2 separate regions of the Homo sapiens genome follow, and region 2 is linked to region 1. Evidence: promoter capture Hi-C in 16 types of primary human blood cells and fetal thymus (Javierre and others, 2016). All regions are on one chromosome and are shown on one strand. Each heading gives the region's core, a stretch centred on a gene start or on the middle of the fragment in contact. The rest is flanking DNA. Distances are from core to core; before and after follow the strand shown. Region 1 holds the start of ALKBH1 (alkB homolog 1, histone H2A dioxygenase). Region 2 overlaps CIPC (CLOCK interacting pacemaker).

What was found. Contacts are between HindIII fragments. The CHiCAGO score rates a contact against its expected background, and 5 or more counts as called.
Region 2: a fragment that was not itself captured here is called in contact with the fragment with the promoter of ALKBH1 in region 1 in 1 of 17 cell types (total B cells); the score reaches 5.8 in total B cells.

The regions. Positions count from the first base shown.
Region 1 is chr14:77,706,582-77,709,281 of GRCh38, forward strand. It overlaps ALKBH1 (alkB homolog 1, histone H2A dioxygenase), which reads right to left and starts at 1,442. Exons shown (of 6, transcript NM_006020.3): 1 at 1,241-1,442. The coding sequence starts at 1,423. It overlaps SLIRP (SRA stem-loop interacting RNA binding protein), which reads left to right and starts at 1,522. Exons shown (of 4, transcript NM_031210.6): 1 at 1,522-1,627. The coding sequence starts at 1,531. RefSeq lists an enhancer at 1,076-1,405. The HindIII fragment of the contact is 1,367 bases long and covers 315-1,681 here.
Region 2 is chr14:77,113,871-77,116,702 of GRCh38, forward strand. It overlaps CIPC (CLOCK interacting pacemaker), which reads left to right. Exons shown (of 4, transcript NM_033426.3): 4 at 1-2,832. The coding sequence ends at 448. Among named protein-coding and RNA genes, the nearest start is that of CIPC, 17 kb to the left of the region's middle. The HindIII fragment of the contact is 1,963 bases long and covers 522-2,484 here.

The DNA.
Region 1 (2,700 bases), core at 192-2,691:
GTACTCAACACATACTGTACTTAGTACTGTTTTAGGTCCTGTACTAGACACATAATGGCTCATTCCCTGATGGCTGACATTCTAAAAAGCATGTACATATTATGGTAAAATGTAGGTAAAAGGAGCTGAATGAGAGTCTGAAGCGCTCTGGAGAGAAAAAGTATATTATTATTGGGGTGTGGACTTTCTGTATTTTGACAACTCTAAGACCACTTTTTTTCCCTAACAAATGAAGGTGCTGAAAAGCTGAGCTCAAGTATGCAATCATTAACACTTAATACTGTAGCATCCCAATTTTATCAGAGCTGTTAGGAAGCTTGGAAAGAATGCCTCATCTAGACATCTGTGGACAACACCAAGAGCAAATTAAGGGACTGCATATCCTCAACGTTAAAGTGGATTGTAAAGAAAGAAAATATAAATTGGACTACAGTTTTGGTTCCCCGTTTTCCCTCTTGCCTGTTATGTTCCCTTAAAAAAATAATTTTTAAAAAATCTATTTACTTGAGAACAGGTTATGAGACTGGCTAATTTTTTGTATTTTTGGCGGAAACGGGGGTCTTGCCATGCCCCAGGCTGGTCTCGAACCCCTGGGTTCAAGCGATCCACCCGCCTCGGCCTCCGAAGTGCGGGATTACAGGCTTGAGCCACCGCTCCCGGACTGTGTTCCCCTTCTTAATCTCCATGGGGAAAAGCTGAGAGAGAGAACGGTGCCTGTATTCCATATATACTTGTTTGCCATTTATTTTCAACACGGAGGGATTCTCAGAATCCTTCAATGACCTCCTTCTAAAAGAGCCAGAGGAGAAGACAGGGACTAGTTTTACGCACAGTGGCTTAACAAACAGCGCCGCATCCCTGTCAGTTCTGGGATTCCTCGGGAGTGGTTTTTTTTAAGCTGCAGAAGTCTACCCTACCGTCTACAAAGACGTTCTATGGGGTTTTACAAAAACCCAAACAGAAATGTGAGGAGACAGTTACAGTAAGAAATAAACACGGATTCCCAGGCTCTTTTGACTGAGCGCCCCCGCCAGGAATGGCCGCCTAAAGAAACAGGCATCTCAACGCTTTATTGCTAAGTGTGACGGTTAGTGGGGAGTTCGACTCTGCAGCCAAAGGAGGTCAGGAATCGTTCAATAACAATCGGTCTGGAGGTGAAAAGAGGCGAAGAAGACACGTAAGTCCCTCCAAGACGCGGGGCAAAGCGATGGAGAGACGCGCGCCACTCCTCTCTCTGTACCTTTTGGGCACCAGGACCCTTGCCACGGGCTGCGTGGGCCGCCGAGAAGTCGATGACCCCTTCCAGGTCTGCGGTCCCGGGCCGGCTCTGACGGTAGAAGCGGAAAAGTTTCCGAAAGGCGTCCTCCCCGGGCTCAGTCGCCAGAGTCGCCACAGAGCCCACGGCCGCTGCCATCTTCCCCATCTCGCGGCCTATACCCTCTGATCCGGAAGCAGATTCTCTCGTGTTCCGGATCCGGAAATTTTTTCCGGGGCCGCGACCTCGGCTCGAGAAGGTGCTTTAGTCTGAAGATGGCGGCCTCAGCAGCGAGAGGTGCTGCGGCGCTGCGTAGAAGTATCAATCAGCCGGTTGCTTTTGTGAGAAGAATTCCTTGGACTGCGGCGTCGAGTGAGTGATGGAGATGTGGGAGTAGTGGAATTTTTAGGTCCAAGTGATCCTCAAAGCTTCTGCTTTTTGCAGGGTACTTAAGTCAGCGTGGTGGCTGAATTAGGAGACTGCTCCTGAGCATGCAAGTGAGCAGAAAGAAATTTTGTTTGCAGTTAACCGTTTAGGGATGTCCCTTGAGCTTTTGGGGTCACGAATGCACCGGCTCTTGCCTTTAGGAGTGATTTGGTGTAAAGATTTATTACTTGGTAACCAAGATTTACAATTTAGAAGGGATAATTTTGACTGTAGTGTGGAGGATGGATTCAAGGTGGCAAGATTGTAGGCGTGCAGAGGAGCTAAAAGGCAATTTCATTAATTTACTTAAAACGTGAGGACCTGAATTAGGGCGATGGTAGAAGGATGGTGGTCAGATGCATTAATGTTTTAAAAGCAAATTAGATGCCGTTTCGTGATGGCTTAAGTGGGAGAAGTGTACGGAATAAAGGAAAGGGAGAAATGATTTCTGGGTTTTTAGCATTGGTGAATTGTTTGTTTAGAAGTTAGGAGCAGGCCAAGAGAAGATGAGTAAAGTTTGAATGTGTTGACTTTGAGAAACTTGTGAGGTTTCCGTCAGGCAATTGGACAAAGGTTGTATATCATTGTGGCTGAGAAGTGGACTCCGAAGCTAGACCGTTGGGGTTAGAATTCCAACTTGGCCATTTAATCGTTGTTATCACTTGAATAACTGAAGTTAGTATGGGAAAAGGGCTCACAACTGGGCCTCAGTTTACTCATCGATAAAATGGAGTCAATAATACCCAACTCATAGGATTGTTGAGAGGATTGAGTTTATATGCAAACTTCTTAGACTTGTGTTAGATACAGTGTAAGTACTCAGCAAATGATAGTTATTTTCACGGTAACTAAAATTGAAACTTACGGGAGAGGCCTAGTCTACAGATAAAGGTTGGAATAATTAGTTCTGAAATCTTTCACCACCTTCAATTTTTGTCAGCTGCAGTTTTGAGATGAGGTTTTTATATTTGCTTACCAACATGTAAACATTCGTGGTCACTCTTTTTGTAGATATTCAT
Region 2 (2,832 bases), core at 253-2,752, 590 kb before region 1:
GGCTAAAGCTCCCAGTCTGACCTTCGCTTCCCCCGCCAGTCCTGTCTGCGCATCAGACAGCACTCTCCATGGGTTAGAGAGCAACTCTCCCCTTTCACCACTGTCCGCTAATTATAGCTCACCTTTATGGGCTGCAGAGCACCTCTGCCGCAGCCCAGATATCTTTTCAGAGCAGCGGCAGAGCAAACATAGGCGCTTTCAGAATACCCTAGTAGTCCTACATAAATCTGGTTTGCTGGAGATCACTTTGAAAACCAAGGAGTTGATTCGTCAGAATCAGGCAACTCAGGTAGAACTAGACCAGCTAAAGGAGCAAACCCAGCTGTTTATAGAAGCCACCAAGAGCAGGGCCCCTCAGGCTTGGGCCAAGCTGCAGGCATCTTTAACACCTGGGTCCAGTAATACAGGCAGTGACCTAGAAGCATTCTCTGATCACCCAGCCATATAGCACAGAGGCATATTTTCCTGTTACTTGAGTGGTTCTTTTAGCTCATTTGCTGTTACCTACTCCTGTTTCCCAAAGCTTATGTAAGAGCTTTTCCTTCTAAACTTAAACTGTGTTGTGGTTCACTTAGGAAGCCACGTGCCAATACCTGGCTGCTGTCTTAACTCGTAGTCTGGGCACAGGATACATATGTCCCCGTCCCACTGAGGACCTCAGTTTGGGAGTGCCCTTGAGCCCCTTTTCCTTAGCCTGCAGGTGCTTCAATGGATCATGGGGCAAAGCAGGAGATGATTGTGTGGGGCTCTTCCTGCTGTCACCTCCCATCATCCCACTCTCTCACCAGGATCAAGGGTACAGTAACACGAATGAGCATACAGAGCAACACCTGTTGAGCCAGGGAGTAGGTGACACAAGGAAACCTTCATGGATCTTCCCTTGCCTGTCTTAGTCACAGAGAGAAATAAGAGGAGGTTGTTTGCATCCCACAAGGCATCGTACTAGTTGGGCGAGACCTAAAATTCCCTGGGCACAGGTTGCACCTGGGTGTGAGCACTTAATCACTCAACGCTTTGTTTTCTTACACTTGAAAATCAAGGGAAAGAGTAGTACCATCTGACTCCTACACTTTCATTACAAGTCAGATTTTTCTTAAACTAGCAGGCAAAAACAGTACTTCCAAATTTTAAGGTATGGAATGAATGCAGTACATCTGGAATTGTAGTCGATGAATTGCTTTTTTGACTTAGAAGCTGAAGAAAATAGACATAGCCGGCATATCTCATGGTCAGGAGCTGGACGATTCTGGTAACTTAGGCTTTTTTTCTCTCTTCTTTTGAAACAGTGTAACCTGTTTTATGTCTAAAAATCTTAAGGATAGTTTCAGTGGTTCCTGGGATGTAGTATAAGTTAACTCTGCTGCCATCTTGTTTTTTTTTTTTTTCCTTTATTTTGATAAGTGATTATTATGCTTGATAAACTTTGAATTAAATACAGTTGTCTTGAGGGTATGATAAGTCCACAAAAAATTGGAAAGCATCTTACCCATTTTCTTCACATCCCAAATTTTTATTTGTTCCATGTCATAGTGATGGGAAGCAGTTACAGAGCAGCGTCTTCTGTGTTTCCTTCATGTGTTAGATATTGGCAACAAAGCCAGAGGTGTAATGTTGGTTATATGAAGTTCATCTCAAAATGGAGACCATGACCAGAGTTTCCAGATGATACACGTTCTTTTCAGCTTCATTAAATAGGCAACTATGTTTCTAAATAGTAAAGTTTCAAAATATTCTCTCAATTTAAAATTTCATCCTCTTGAAAATCTTTGTTCTTTACAAAATTATCTTAATAAGTTCTATATGGTCAGCTTCATCTTCCTTTTTTTTTTTTTTGAGATGGAGTTTCGCTCTTGTTGCCCAGGCGGAGTACAATGGTGGGATCTCGGCTCACTGCAACCTCCGCCTCCTGGGTTCAAGTGATTCTCCTGCCACAGCCTCCCAAGTAGCTGGGATTACAGGTGCCTGCCACCATGCCCAGCTAATTTTTGTATTTTTAGTAGAAATGGGGTTTTACCGTGTTGGCCAGGCTGGTCTCGAACTCCTGACCTCAGTTGATCCGCCTGCCTCAGCCTCCCAAAGTGCTGGGCTTACAGGCCTGAGCCACCACGCTCAGCTCAGCTTCACCCTGTCTGCAAAGAAAAGTTTTACCAAGACCAGAAGTTAAATATGACATTTCCTAGGTAGTTGTAACTCTAACATAGTTTAAAAAGTATGTGGCTTCAGATTGCCTATACTTTGTTCACAAACGTGTGATTTAGATATGACTGATGTAGAAGTGAACAACTTGGTAACATCCCTAGACTCCACTCATGAACGCAGAATTATTACCTGCTGTTTGCTTTCTGAAAGAATTTCAGAAATCAGAGCAAATGTGTCTTTAGGCAGATTCAGCTCCTTTTAATATTTTTCTCTTGGCCCACTCTCTTTGCTTCCCCTGAATCTGTGTGGTACTATAGCAGCTCTACTCTGTGCACCATGCTAGGAAGCTTCCTTTTTGGCAGAATATGTTTGGCAGCAAAGCTATAGAGACAGGTGCATTCAGAACATCCTGGGCACCAGTCATGAGTCTTACTGTGTCAAAAATCTGAAAACACTTGCTGAGAACCAAATTTATTCCATTGGAAAAACCCTCTGTGGAGCTATAAGCCTCTTGGACTCTTCTTCCTAGATTAAGGCTTGCATTTCCCTCCCTGTTTCAGTAAAAGATGATGAAAGCCACTATCAATCCTCACTGCTGAGTGGCAGGGAGAAGCAGCACCACTCTCAGCTCTTTTCTAATCTTGTAACTTAGTGCTAGAAGTCTCTCCAGGCTATTACCATGGGCATTTGTTC